Linked DNA regions of Homo sapiens: all the other regions are linked to region 2. Evidence: promoter capture Hi-C in 16 types of primary human blood cells and fetal thymus (Javierre and others, 2016). All regions are on one chromosome and are shown on one strand. Each heading gives the region's core, a stretch centred on a gene start or on the middle of the fragment in contact. The rest is flanking DNA. Distances are from core to core; before and after follow the strand shown.

Evidence for each region. Contacts are between HindIII fragments. The CHiCAGO score rates a contact against its expected background, and 5 or more counts as called.
Region 1: a contact is called between the fragment with the promoter of LRRC32 here and a fragment that was not itself captured in region 2, in 1 of 17 cell types (naive B cells). The highest score is 5.5, in naive B cells.
Region 3: a contact is called between the fragment with the promoter of WNT11 here and a fragment that was not itself captured in region 2, in 1 of 17 cell types (megakaryocytes). The highest score is 6.9, in megakaryocytes.

Annotation. Positions count from the first base shown.
Region 1 is chr11:76,669,026-76,673,426 of GRCh38, reverse strand. LRRC32 (leucine rich repeat containing 32) reads left to right here and starts at 2,680. Exons shown (of 3, transcript NM_001128922.2): 1 at 2,680-2,813. RefSeq lists silencers at 564-803, 2,536-2,735, 2,796-2,925. The HindIII fragment of the contact is 10,336 bases long and covers 1-4,401 here.
Region 2 is chr11:76,445,708-76,450,115 of GRCh38, reverse strand. It overlaps EMSY (EMSY transcriptional repressor, BRCA2 interacting), which reads right to left. Exons shown (of 22, transcript NM_001300942.2): 2 at 3,108-3,216. The coding sequence starts at 3,177. Among named protein-coding and RNA genes, the nearest start is that of EMSY, 2.9 kb to the right of the region's middle. RefSeq lists an enhancer at 4,097-4,391. The HindIII fragment of the contact is 738 bases long and covers 2,747-3,484 here.
Region 3 is chr11:76,203,772-76,207,827 of GRCh38, reverse strand. WNT11 (Wnt family member 11) reads left to right here and starts at 1,326. Exons shown (of 5, transcript NM_004626.3): 1 at 1,326-1,503. The coding sequence starts at 1,421. RefSeq lists silencers at 1-193, 1,174-1,413 and an enhancer at 202-869. The HindIII fragment of the contact is 7,460 bases long and covers 1-2,358 here.

The sequences.
Region 1 (4,401 bases), core at 1,431-3,930, 220 kb before region 2:
CAGGAGAACTCCCCATTTCTGGAGGTGTGCCAGCAGAAGCTAAGTGACACTGGATGGGAAGTTGGACTTGGTGGCCTTTAAAAGACCCTCCACATGGCTGCAAGGCAAGCCTGAGTCTGCTCAGTTTCCACCCACTCCTCCTCCTGCAGACTCAAGCTCTGCCTCCTAGACTTGGCCTTCAAGGCCTCTGGACTCAATCATCCTCTGTGCTCTCATCTGTCTCTCATCTGGCCTGGGAGCTCCAAAAAAGTAGGCATTGGGCATTTTTATTCAGCAACTGTCCTGGGCCCACCAGAGGAGAGAGGTCATGTTTACTGAGCAAAGGCCCCCGCGACCAGGAACTTCACACGTGTCATTACAGGCCATCCTCATACACCCGGTACTGTAATTAGTTTCACTTTGCAGGTCAGCAAACCAAGGTCAGGAAGGCTGAGCAACCTGCCAAAAGTCACACAACAACATGACTGCCAAAGAAGTGAAGAGATGAAGGAAGGGGCGCTGAGCCTGTGGGCTTCCCGGCTTTTAGCCCCTGGTCCCCAGAGGCATCTGCAGCAGGTGGGCACGCTTGGTTGCCCATCTGCCTCAAATGTGGGGGAGCCCCATCCGGGCACTGAGTAAGGTGGAACCCCACGAGCTGACTAACCACAACCACAGCCTCTGGGGGCGGGGGAGTGGGAGGTGGGGCACTCACCCCCAGCCCACCATAGCCCCAGCCCCGCCCTCCTGGGCCCTAGCAGAAGCTCTGCCATGGCCCAGTGATTTCTGCTTGGTAGCAGCTCCGGGAAGGGTGAGGCAGTGCTCAGCGAGCCTGGGTCTGGATGGCTGGGAGCTGGTCTGATACACAAGGCCAGGAACTGCCCGAATGATCCAGTCACTCTGCTCATACTGCAGGGCAGCTTCAAAGCACTTTCCTGAACATTTGGCCCCTTGGACAGGGACCTGGAAAAGGAAGCCCACAGGATATAGGAGTATCCACCAACTGCCACAATAAAGGCAGTGAGAAGTTGCCTAACAACCACTGGGTGCAGGCTCCAGCTGGATCCATTGCACTTAGTTCTAGCACCAACTCCAAGTAGTAGCTACTATCTTTCCCACTTTACAGATAGGGGCACTGAGGTTCCATTTGACCAAATGGAGCACTAGAGACCAGAGAGGGGGCTGGATGGACCAGCTAGGACCCTGTGGACATAGATCTGAGGCCTTGGGTGGCTGGGAGGGAAGGGAAAGAGGTTTGGATACCCTTCGCAGGCCCTGCTGAGAGATTCCTTACCTGCACCTCCTGCCCATCCCCTCACTGCAGCTCAGGCCTCCTCCTTAGGGAAGCCTTCCCTGATTTCCTCTTCTAAGACTAGGTCAGGCCCCTATGGCACCTGCTATCATGGCTTGTCCTCTCTGGGTTGACCCCATCTCCCCAGATCCATCTCCACAGTGGACTGAACAGGGGTAAGAAAAGGCAGTAACTGTAGAGACTTCAGGGAATCCCGCTTCTGAGCCCAGCCTTACCCTGATTTGCCACAAGGCCCTGGGTGGTCACTTTCATGCATGTAAAATGGGGCACCCTGCCCCACTCTCAGGGCTGGTGACGATCAGGGAAGAGAAACACTGTGGAAGAGGCCCCTTCTACACTTGGAACCAGGACCTGGAGGACAGCCAGGGCCCCTCTCTTCTAGGGACCCGCATACTAGAGTCCACAGGCAGCAAGGCAGGGTACCTGTGATTTGGTAGGGTCAAGGCATCTAGAAGAGAGGTGGCTTTGGGAAAGATCTGCTTCAACCTCCAATCTAAATGACAATACCGCCACCCCATATTTGCACAGTACTTTAAAAATTCGGGCAAGATAATGCCCAAACTGAATCAGACTTAGCTTTATGAACAGATTGGGCTCAAATCACTGATTCTTATTAGCTGTGTTGACTTTGGACACGCCATTTAACCTTTTCTGAGCCTCAGGTTCCCCAGCTATAAATAGGGACCTTACTAGTCTCAGACAATTGGTTTTCATGTGTACACACTGCCCCCACCCCTAGCCTCAGCTTCTCCATCCGAAAACAGGACTTTGATGGTGCCGTTTCACAGGCTGTTGAAGGGTCCCGCAGATGATGGAGGAGTACGGGTCCAGACACTAGAGCACAATCCGGAGAGGAAAAGTGACCTGCCAGGACCCACCAGAGTGGACGGCTTGGTGCGGGGAACCCCCTCCGCGGCCGCCCCAGGGCCAGCGAAGGGTCATTTCCTTCCGCATTCAGCCCCGCCGTCACCTCGCCTGTTTGCCCCCGCGTTAAGTGCGGCGGCGCCAGCAGCTGGGAAATCGGGGCCAGGCCGGATTTCCTCTGTGGACCTGCGGCTCCTAGAGCCACCGCGCCCCCCTCCGGACCCCGCGGGGCCGCGAACTGCACGTGCGGCGGCCGCTGGGATGGGCCTCGCTCCCACGGCGCTTCCTCTGCAACCCCTCTCCCTCCCGCCCTCTCATCCCCCCACACTGGGCCCCCGCCCCTTCCCGGCCGAGGTCCCAGGGTGGTGAAGATGCTTCGCCGCCCCACCCCACTCCGCCCCCGCCGGCTCCGGATAAACCGAGGCACGGGGCCAGGCGCTAGGACCCCACGGCCTCGCCAGAGGGGGGCGTGGCGGGGCGGGCCGGCGGGAGAGGTATTTAAATTGCAGCCGGAGCGCGGGGGCTCCGGTGGGGCAGCTGAGCGGCCTGCTCCTCCTCGGGCCGTGACCCCGGGGTCTGGCGCGGGGTGGGACCCGGGGGCGGGTTTGCGCAAAATGTGCCGAGACTGCCCGGGAGAGGAGCTGCGGCCGCGCTGAGCCAGGTAGGAGCCGCCGGGCAGGCGAGGCTGGCCGGCCCTCGGGGGGCGCACTGTCGCGCGCCTCTAGCGAGCGCAAGGCGGGGGCTGGTCCCAAGGGACGCCCCCCAAACACTCCCCTCCCGCCATCCCCACTGCGCGCGTGGAGCCGGGGCTGACCCTCCCTCGGTCCCTGGGAGTTCCCCAGCGCTCCTGTCTTGGCGGATCTTTCCCGCAAAGGGGTGAGGCCGGCCTTCCCATTTGACAGCTGGGAAAACAATGGCCTGAAGACCGTGACTTGCCCAGGAACACACAGCTAGGCAAGGGCAAACCGGAATTTGAATTCAGGTTTCCTGCAACGCTCCGATCCCAGCCAGGCGTGGGGCTGCCCATCCCACAGCACTAGATGGCCTGCCCATTTCTCGTAGTGGGGTAGGGGGCACCCACCGCTCTCCAAGGGGCTCTGAACCCAGCCTTCTTCATGGGTGGTAAGATGTGAGGGGCCCCCACCCCCACGCCGAGCTGCCTGAAATTCCGCCATCACAGCCACATTCCTTTGGGTTAAGGTCTAATTCCCCCGTGGGATGCACATGTCTCCAGAACGAGGCTTGCCCTTAGTGATTCACTGCTTGACAGGAACGTCCGCAGCAGCTCTCCCAGGACCCCACTCTGCCAGTAAGTCAGCTGAGGCCGAGAGGAGGGAGAGAGGACCTCAGAGGCCAGACTGTGAGCTAGTCTGCCCTGCTCCTGCGTGTGAGGGGTCGTTGGCAGGGCTTAGGGAAGGAGACCTTGATTTGGTATAGTGGGAACATTTGCTTTGGAGACAGATGAACTGGATTCTGATCGTGACCCTGCTATTTTCTCCTTGTGTGACTTTGGGTAAGTCACTTCTCTGAGCCTCCTTTTCTTCATGGGCAAAAAAAAGACAGTTCTATTGGGGGCAGTCGGCTCAGCATGTGCTGGAGAAAACACAGTATTCAGGTCATGTAGAACTGGATAAATCCCAGCTCCAAAGCCCTTATGAGCTGGGTAACTCTGGGGGTAAGTCACTTCACTTTCCGGAAACTGTTTTCTCATCCGTAAAATGGGAATTACAGTAATTTCCTCAATAGGTGATTGTGAGAATTAAATGAGATGATATAGGTCAAGTGCTTAGAAGACTAACATCCTTAAATGTAGGGGTGGGCTTATTGTGGTAGTAGTCATTGCCCCCCGTACCCCTGCTCTTTCTCTCTCACTCTCTCTCTCTCTCTCACACACACACACACACACACACACACACACACACACACACATTCTTTGGCACTTTTCTGAGTTGGACTCCTGAGAGTCCGACTCTCCTGCCTCCTCTTGCCCAGGCCACTTGTCTGCAGGCTTGGGGCCTCCCCACTGAGCACACCTCACCTGGGATGCTCAGCCCTGCGAGGGTCACTGTGTCAGCTGGGAAGGACAGTGAGGATGCAGGGCACCTTCGCCACCATTCTTTGCCTGATCATCACAATAGTTGGGGTTGGCCAGTGGCAGAACTGGAACCCAGCTGCCTACCCTGCAGACAGGACACTGGGGCACCAAGAAAGGAAGGGACTTACCTTAGGGAGCAGAGCTGGTGAGTGGT
Region 2 (4,408 bases), core at 1,866-4,365:
AAGCTTTAATCAGAAAGAGAATTGTGTGCCAGGCAGGCAGGGAAAAAAAAAAAAAAAAGCAAATGTACAAAAGAAATAGAGTAAAAGAACAGATAGTTTCATATTATTCCAGTAACTTCCAGTAACAGTCAGTAACTATGTTTGAGAGTTTTATACTAAGGGCAGTAAAAATATGTCTGTACTTGGATAGTCCCTAACTCAAACCAAACTACTAATTGAACATTACTGCTACAAGGTATCATGGAGAATATTTCTAGGAACAAAATAAAATCCCTATCCTCAAGGTGATTAAAATCCAACAAGGCACCTAAGAAATATATCCAAATAACTATTTTAAAGATTTTAGTTCACACATGGAAGAGAACAGAGAACGGTAAAAATGGAAAAGTAGTTTGTGGCCAGACTGAGAAAAGCCTCTATTTCCAGTCTAAAATGTTTTTATTTGATAGGACTCAGTAATTGATTGATTGTGGGAAGTAATGACAGAAGGCAGTCAGATTTTGCAGCCTGCAAAATGTTTAGGAGAATGGCAATGCCATAAAAAGAAATGAAGAGGTCAAAGTGAGGGAATAGTTTGAGAAAAATGAAAAAGAAGTTGACACTTGTGACCTGTGGAATTTATGATGATCAAGACATTACTTCAGAGAAAATAAAATTAACTAAAGAAATACAACAAATATTTCTGACATTTCAAGTCTAAGAAGTCATGTACAAAATCAAGAGATGGCAACCTCACACACACAAAACTGGGACTCTGAACACAGTTACCACAGCTATAGAATCCACATCACTTCCTCCTCTTCACAAGAAATTCACTCATTGTAAAGAACCCTATTAGCTTCCCAACCTCCTTCACATTTGTTGATGTCCATTTTGATGGGTATCCTTAGATCTTCACATACCTCAAATTTAGTTGAATTTCTGGTATTATTTTTCAAGCAATTCTATCACAGTGTTAATACAAAAGTAGAATAAAATAACAAACACATATGAACATTCCAAAAACGAAAGATTTGCCAAACCATTTATATAAAGCCCTCAATTTGGTCCATTAAATCAGCCATTCAAATACACTATAGTCCATAAAGCCCCGTGTTGGAGCTACAGCTCAGGAATGATCACAAAAATAGGGAAGGGGAGAGGCAAGACAGAGAGAAGGAAGCATTTATCTAGCACTGACACATTCAGTATATATAAAGAAATTCTCTATCCCAATTTCTTTATATGTATGTAAAATCTAAGTATTTAACATCTTATATTAAAATGATTTATAACTATTTTTTAAAGGATACAGCTAATTTTTAAAAACTGTATGTACCTTTTCTAAACTTTGGACCTAGAGTTAGCATGTGAAGACAATTCAAAGGTTTCATTGTTATGATAATAAGCCAACGGGTGGGGAGGAAGTCTTTGGCAAATCACTATCAAAGCTCACCTCCCAATATGAGGGGTCAATGAAGATGATATTACCATACGAGATGACTGTTTTCTTTTATATAGAAGCACTCTGCAGCAACATTACCCACACAGCTCTGATTAAATTAGGAATAAATTTAGACTTAAAGGTTACCATTTTTATATTTAAACATAATCTCTCAATTCAAAGGCCCCCAAGCCCAGAAACCCCAATTCAATCTACTGTCTTTGTGATATGTTCTGCAATTTCAGCTATCAAATAAATATGAGTCCAACTTTATAATCGGCAACTAACAAGTTATATTAATTGTATGCAAGTGTAGAAAACTATCTTCAGATTAGGACTAAAAGTTTGGTTAAAAAAAAAAAAGATTGACATCCCCCACACCCTCTCCAAAAACAACTCTCTTAGACTTGCTTTAAAAGATGCTGCTAAAAAGTGATTTGAAATCCTCATAGTGGCCTTGGGTGGAATAAAAAGGACAGGCAGGGCCAGAGCAGCTATGATTCTATCTGATTTACAAAGAAAAATTCCCAACAAAGATTTACTATGACGGGCCCTTTATGTATACTGTTAACACACGTAACAAACTAATGAGGCAGAGAGTGTTATCCTCTTTTTTTTTGTTTTAACAAAACTATCAACAAATTTAGGAAGAATAAATAACTTGTCCTTGGTCACATGGGTCATTTGTAATAATACCAAGACCCCAGGTCTGTCTAAATTCAAGACCTATACTTTTCCTTTAAAATCACAGATATCTAAATAATGCATATCCACTGCCAAAACATTTAATCTTCTTTTTCAAATTATTTTTTTCAATTATTTCATTTATTGTGCTAGCCAGAGACTACAGTGGTAAATAAGACAAGGTCCTCATAGTCTAAGGCAGCATTTCTCAACCAAAGATCCTCATTTGAACTACAGAACACAAAATGATTTGAGTAATAACTCTTTTTCTCAATTTTCCCAAGGAAAGTAATAACTAATAGCACTCTAGATGCACAGGGCGAAGTTAGTTCTTTACATACAATGGATACCTTAGCATTAGGGTTTAATTCTTTCCCTCAATGCTGGTTGAGAAAGGCTGCTGTAAGGGAAAAGAAACACTAAATAATAAATTACAAGCATAAAATGTGTTTTATTATTGATAGTAAAATATAATTTGAAAAAGTGAGCATGGCTTACATCAACTTAGAATTCAGAAATAGTATGTAATTGACACATACAATCATGAAGGTTAAGAGTATGTTAAAGTGAGACTGAAAGCATACTCCCTGGTTCAAATACTGACTCCATGTCTATCACCATTACCTTGGCTTCTAAGCTTCATCTGTAAAATGGAGACGAGACAAAACAAACAAACAAAAAACACCTACCTTTTAGGCTTTCAAAGGACAAAGCTAATTCTTAAAATATTTAAATTAGATGTTGTATAAAAAAGACTCAGAATAGCCAAGTAGCCCTCAATAAATCTTAGCTACTAGTATTATTACAATTCACACACCTACTATTTACAAAGCACTATGTTAGGCACTGAGGGAAACAACAATGAGTAAGATGGGAACTGTATCTCCAAAGAATTTCTGATGTAGCGTGAGATATGACATCCATGCAAACAGCTATGACCTAGGCAGAAAGGGAAAAAAGGTATCAGAGAGAGGTAAAAAACAAACAATGAACGTCATACCCAATTTTCGAAGAATTCTTTTGCATTCATCCCTGCTGAGATCCAGAAGGGTTGGCCACACAACAGGCATTGCTGCTTCTGTTTGGTAGCCCCAAAGAGCTTGTCCTCCCTACCAGAACAAAAAAAAAAAGTCAAATTACCAAAGTACCAAAGTACATTCAAGGGGCCACTCACCTGGAGATCCAGTCACAGGCTAAGAAGTAAACCAAAAAGATATTACTATTTTACAATCCTTTCTCACCACCACACTTTCCAACTTTTGAGAAATCAAGAATTAAGTCATTTGAACTATCACAGTGGAAAGAACACAGGCTTTAGAGCCAGACACCTCTAGGTTTCTAGTCCCAACTTTTCAACTTACTGGTTAAGCCTAAGCTTTACACATCTATAAAACAGAGGTAATACCACCCAGTTTGTTACGCGTATTAAAGAACACTATATATAAAGTTCTTTCATAGTGGCTGGCATTTCATTTAATAAACAGGTGGTACTACCAACCTGGGGCAAGTTGACTCCTGTCAGCTTCCTCATTTATGAATTACATGAGATAAAATTTGTAAAGCTCCTAGCAAGTTAAAGAAACTTAATAAATAACTCCTCGTGCTCGCTTCAGCAACACATATACTAAAATTGGAACGATACATACATATATATATATACACATATATATATACATATATATATACACACACACACATATATATATACTCTCTCAAGTCTTAATGGAATATGAATTTTGATCCTGTAGTTATTAAACAGCCATTTACCAACAGTTGAGCTGCCAGGAACTTACTTAGAACTGGGAATTTCCTAGTGTAAAAGACAAAAAGACACGGCTCTGGGGGCACGCGCAATACCTGCTTAGCACAGAGTAGAGCCGCTCTAAGTATTTGTTAAATGGGTAAGTGAATGGTTGACGCGACTGAGCAAAACGAATGGATGAATGAATGAATGAACGAGCTCACTGTCTAGCCTAGAAGTCAGACACCGAACCGAAATAACTGCTATATCCCGTTCCAGGCGCTGGGGCTGCTAACTCCAACTCTGTGTCCCGAGGTGAGCCCCCCTCCCCCTACTTCCCATAGTCCTCTCAGCTCAGAACAAACCCAAGGCAAGAAGAACTGGACTGCGCGCCCCAGCCGGCAGTATGACATAAAGAAAAGGGGTGGGGAGGAGGAAGAAGGGGCAGAGCCAAAGGAATCCTCTCCCTCCACAAGCCAGTCCCCGCCTCCCGACAGGATCTTGGAGGCGGCCGGCGACTGCTCGAACCGAGCACCACGTCACGGCATCCCGGCGCGTCC
Region 3 (4,056 bases), core at 77-2,576, 240 kb after region 2:
AAAGCGGAGATAGCTGCTCCGCGGGCTGCGGGCGGGCGGGGCAGCCTCTCCTCCGCGGCCCGAGGGCGCCGCCTGGAGGCCAGAGGCAACACCGCGCCAGCCCCGCGAGCTTCCCCGCTTCGCTAAGGCGGGGCTGCCCAGTCCCAGCCCGCATGCTTCCACTCCCACCCTCCAAAGTGGAGCGGCTAAAGACGGACTTGGAGACTCGGAATCCTCACTGTACAAAGAGCCCTACCATCCCGTTTCCCATCCTCCCCTTCCCACACCGAGAAAGCAGGGCCCCGAGCAAGCCCCATTTCCTGATTTCGCCGGACACCCGGCTTGCCGCTCCCTAGCTGAACCCCACCTCTGTGCCTCAGTTTCCTCATCTGTGAGATGAGGCAGCGATAGTGCCTATCTCACGGGGTGCTGGGAGGAGCAGATGCGATCGTGTTAGGGAACTTTTTTTGTTTGTCTGTTTGTTTGAGACGGAGTTTCGCTCTTGTCGCCCAGGCTAGAGTGCAGTGGCGCAATCTCCGCTCGCTGCAACCTCCGCCTCCCGGGTTCAAGCGGTTCTCCTGCCTCAGCCTCCCGAGTAGCTGGGATTACAGGCGCCCGCCACCACGCCCGGCTAATTTTTTGTATTCGTAGTAGAGACGGGGTTTTGCCATGTTGGGCAGGCTGGTCTCGAGCTCCTGACCTCAGGTGACCCGCCCGCCTCGACCTCCCAAAGTGCTGGGATTACAGGCGTGAGCCACCCTGCCCGGCCAGGGAACGTTCTTTATAAAAGCGGAATTGTGCCCGAATTGCCCCAGCTTACTGAGGAGGTAAACTGAAACACGTTTGGGAAGGAGAATTGCCGAGGCCCTATTAACTAATGCTCAATATTGCAGGGATAAGCCCCAGCTCCGGGTCCTCGACTCTGCTGCCTCGCCTGGACTCCTGATTCCTCATTCCTCTCCTTTCCGTCCCAGGTTGCGTCTGTCCGGGTTTCCCCCTCTGTCTCCGTGGCTCTCAGCCTTGTCCTCTGAGCGTCCTTCTCCCTCTCGCTGTGTCTGCCCGGTCTCTCCTGGGTCTCCGGTTCTGCCGCCTCCTGTCCCTCCTTCCGGCTGCCCCGGCCAGAGGGGCTCGAAGGCGCGTTGGGGCCCGGGGCCACGCTGGGAGACACGCCTTCGGCCGCGCCTAATTCGAGCCAGGCGCGGGACGCGTCCCCCGGCCGGGCGGAGCGGGAGGGGACGCCCGCCGCGCTCGGCCTCCCCGGGCCCCGACCCCTCCTTTGTAATTTGAATAAAACGCCTCCCCCGCCCGCGCGCCGCCTTAACCCGCCGCCTCCGCTCTCCCCGGCTGCAGGCGGCGTGCAGGACCAGCGGCGGCCGTGCAGGCGGAGGACTTCGGCGCGGCTCCTCCTGGGTGTGACCCCGGGCGCGCCCGCCGCGCGACGATGAGGGCGCGGCCGCAGGTCTGCGAGGCGCTGCTCTTCGCCCTGGCGCTCCAGACCGGCGTGTGCTATGGCATCAAGTGGCTGTGAGTAGGGACCCCGCGTCCACGCGCACAGGCCAGGGACTGGGGCGGCGGAGGGCGTTTTGGGGTCCCCTGGATGGGGCGAGCGCACCAAGACCCGGGAGCCTAAGCTGGCTTGGCGGTCGTGGGCAAGTCATCCCTCAGCCTCTGTTTCCTCCTCTGTAAAATGTCCCTGCCTCCCGCAGGCTTGCGAAAAGGGAGTGAGACGGGCGTGGACCACAATGGAAGCGCCTGGTCCTGTGCAGCTGACGGTGGCGCAAGGGCCACGGAGTTTCTGGCCACCTCCGCAGGGGCAGATGGAAAAAGACATTCTGTTCAGGGGGCGCAATCCAGAGCGGCCAGCCCAGGAGCGGTCCTTGTCCGTCAGTCTCCTTGACCCTAGCGGGAGTTCCGCTGAGACACTCCTGACCCCTCCACCTGGGCGACCTTGGGAAAGTGTCACTCTACTTCTTGGGGCCTCCTTGTCCTCCTCTGTCACGGGAGGGTGAGACTCCCCACCTCCCTCAAATCAGATGAGAAGAGGCTCCTGAAAGGACCTCAGAAGCTGTCAGATGCCACTGTGCACATGTGCAGGGCATTCCTTTAGATAGAAATTATTCACGCAGGGGTAGGAGGGAGAGAGAGGCTTGGTGCCGAGCTGAAGGGAGTGCCTGCTCAGGGGGCTGGGGGTGGTGAAGAGAGGAGTAAACACCAGCCCCTTCCCGGAGGAGCTGCGCTCTAAGTTGAGAGAGATAAGCCCAGGCTGTAAATAACTCCACAAGTGTCCAAGTGCCCGAGGAGAAACCAGAGCGGGAATCTGGAGGCCTAGAGGAAGGAAGCCCACCTGGTGGGGACACAGATGTGAGACACCGGGAAGCTTTTCCGAGGCTGTGCCTCTGGTGACTGAAGCGCTGCTGGGAGTTGGCTGGTTCGGGCAATGGAGAGGACGCTGTGGGCAGAGGGGCTCCCTGAGAGGGAAAGTCCAGGACAGGACAAGGGTCTGGAATCTGGGGCCAGGGCAGGGAGCCTGCAGATAAGACAGCAGGGGGCAGGTTGTGGGGGCTGGGGAGGGCGCTGCAAAGGGTTTGTGAATTAGTTGGAAGACAGGGTGATAGTGGCTGCGCCGCCAGCAAACAGTCTGGAGGTCACTGGCCCTGCCCCTTCTCAGGCCAAGTTATTGATTAATTGACGATTCGAGGAGGGAACCCCGTCTTCCTGCCTTTCTTGTTTACAAGAAGCCTGGTCTCAGCAATCTCCCAGCCCTGGGCACTAGCTTTTCCCAGCTGTCCCTGAGGAGTTCTGTGAGAAACCAGCCACCTTCCTTTTGCAATGGGGTACCCAGCACTGTTCCAGCTGGCAGGGACCTCCGATCAGCGAGTCCAAGCTCTCTCATCCACCGCCACCATTTTACAGATAAGGATACTAAGGTCCAGGGAAGGAGAGGATTGGCTGAAGGAGCGTCAGAGGCCTTGCAGTGGGCTTGGGTGTCATTTGCCGCCCATAAGAGTCCTGTGGGGTCACTGCCATCATCCCTGCTCCACAGTGGGAACACCGAGACCCTGCAAAGGGCATGATGCACGCAAGCCCCCACGCTGGCCTGTGGTGGGATGGACGGCTGGCTAAACCTGACGTCCATGTCCTCTGTCCCCACTGCAAAGTCAGGCTGCCACAGAAATGGGTACAACTCATTGTGTGCCTTAAATAAGCCCCCAGGCTCTTGGGGGAGATGGACATATAGAAATACAAAGTGGACTATGGTCTGTGTCCTAGCAGAGGGAGCATGGCAGCCCAGAGGAGGAGTGATCAGTTCTATCTAAGGGAGATGCATAGGCCAGGATTGGAAGGACAGGGAGGATTTGGATGGTCAGAGACGGAGTGCAAAGCAGGCGTCCTAGGCGGGAGGCACAGCACGAGCAGAAGCCTGGAGGCCGAACAGCGCATGCGGGGAGACCTGGAGAAACCAGGCACCACAAGAGCCTACTCCTAAGTGCCCCAGACGCTGCTCCGAGAGCTTGGGTCATGTAAGTTAGATCATACTGCACTCCTATGAGAAACTGATAGTCTAGCAATAGGGGATTAAAGTCTTGCTAGAGTTTAAGATAGAGGGGGAGGTGGGAAAAGGGGTGGAGTTTAAGAATAACAACGATCTGTGTATGCATGTGTATATATAGATACACGTGTGTAGGCCACGTGCATATATCTATGTATATGTACATATATGTCTACACACACATGGCCTCACTTTGTGCTAGGTGCCGTTCTAAGTGCCTTATGTATATTGTTCCATTTAAATATCCCAACCACCCTGTGAGGTGGGTGCTGCTATTACCCCCGTTGCACAGAAGAGGAAACAGAGACTGGGGCACACAGAGATGGGGGACTCTACCTAGCAGGGTGTCACAGCTCAGAGGTAGTAGAGGCAGGATTTGAGTTAAGCTGCCTAGCTCTGTGGACTGTTGGGCACAGGGAGCCCCAGCACAGCTGGGAGCAGGGAAGTGTTCAGTGAGGCTGGAAAGCCGGGGACTCACCCAGGAGCCTCCGCTGGCCTGGGCTTTGGAGAGTGAGCTGGAGATGAAA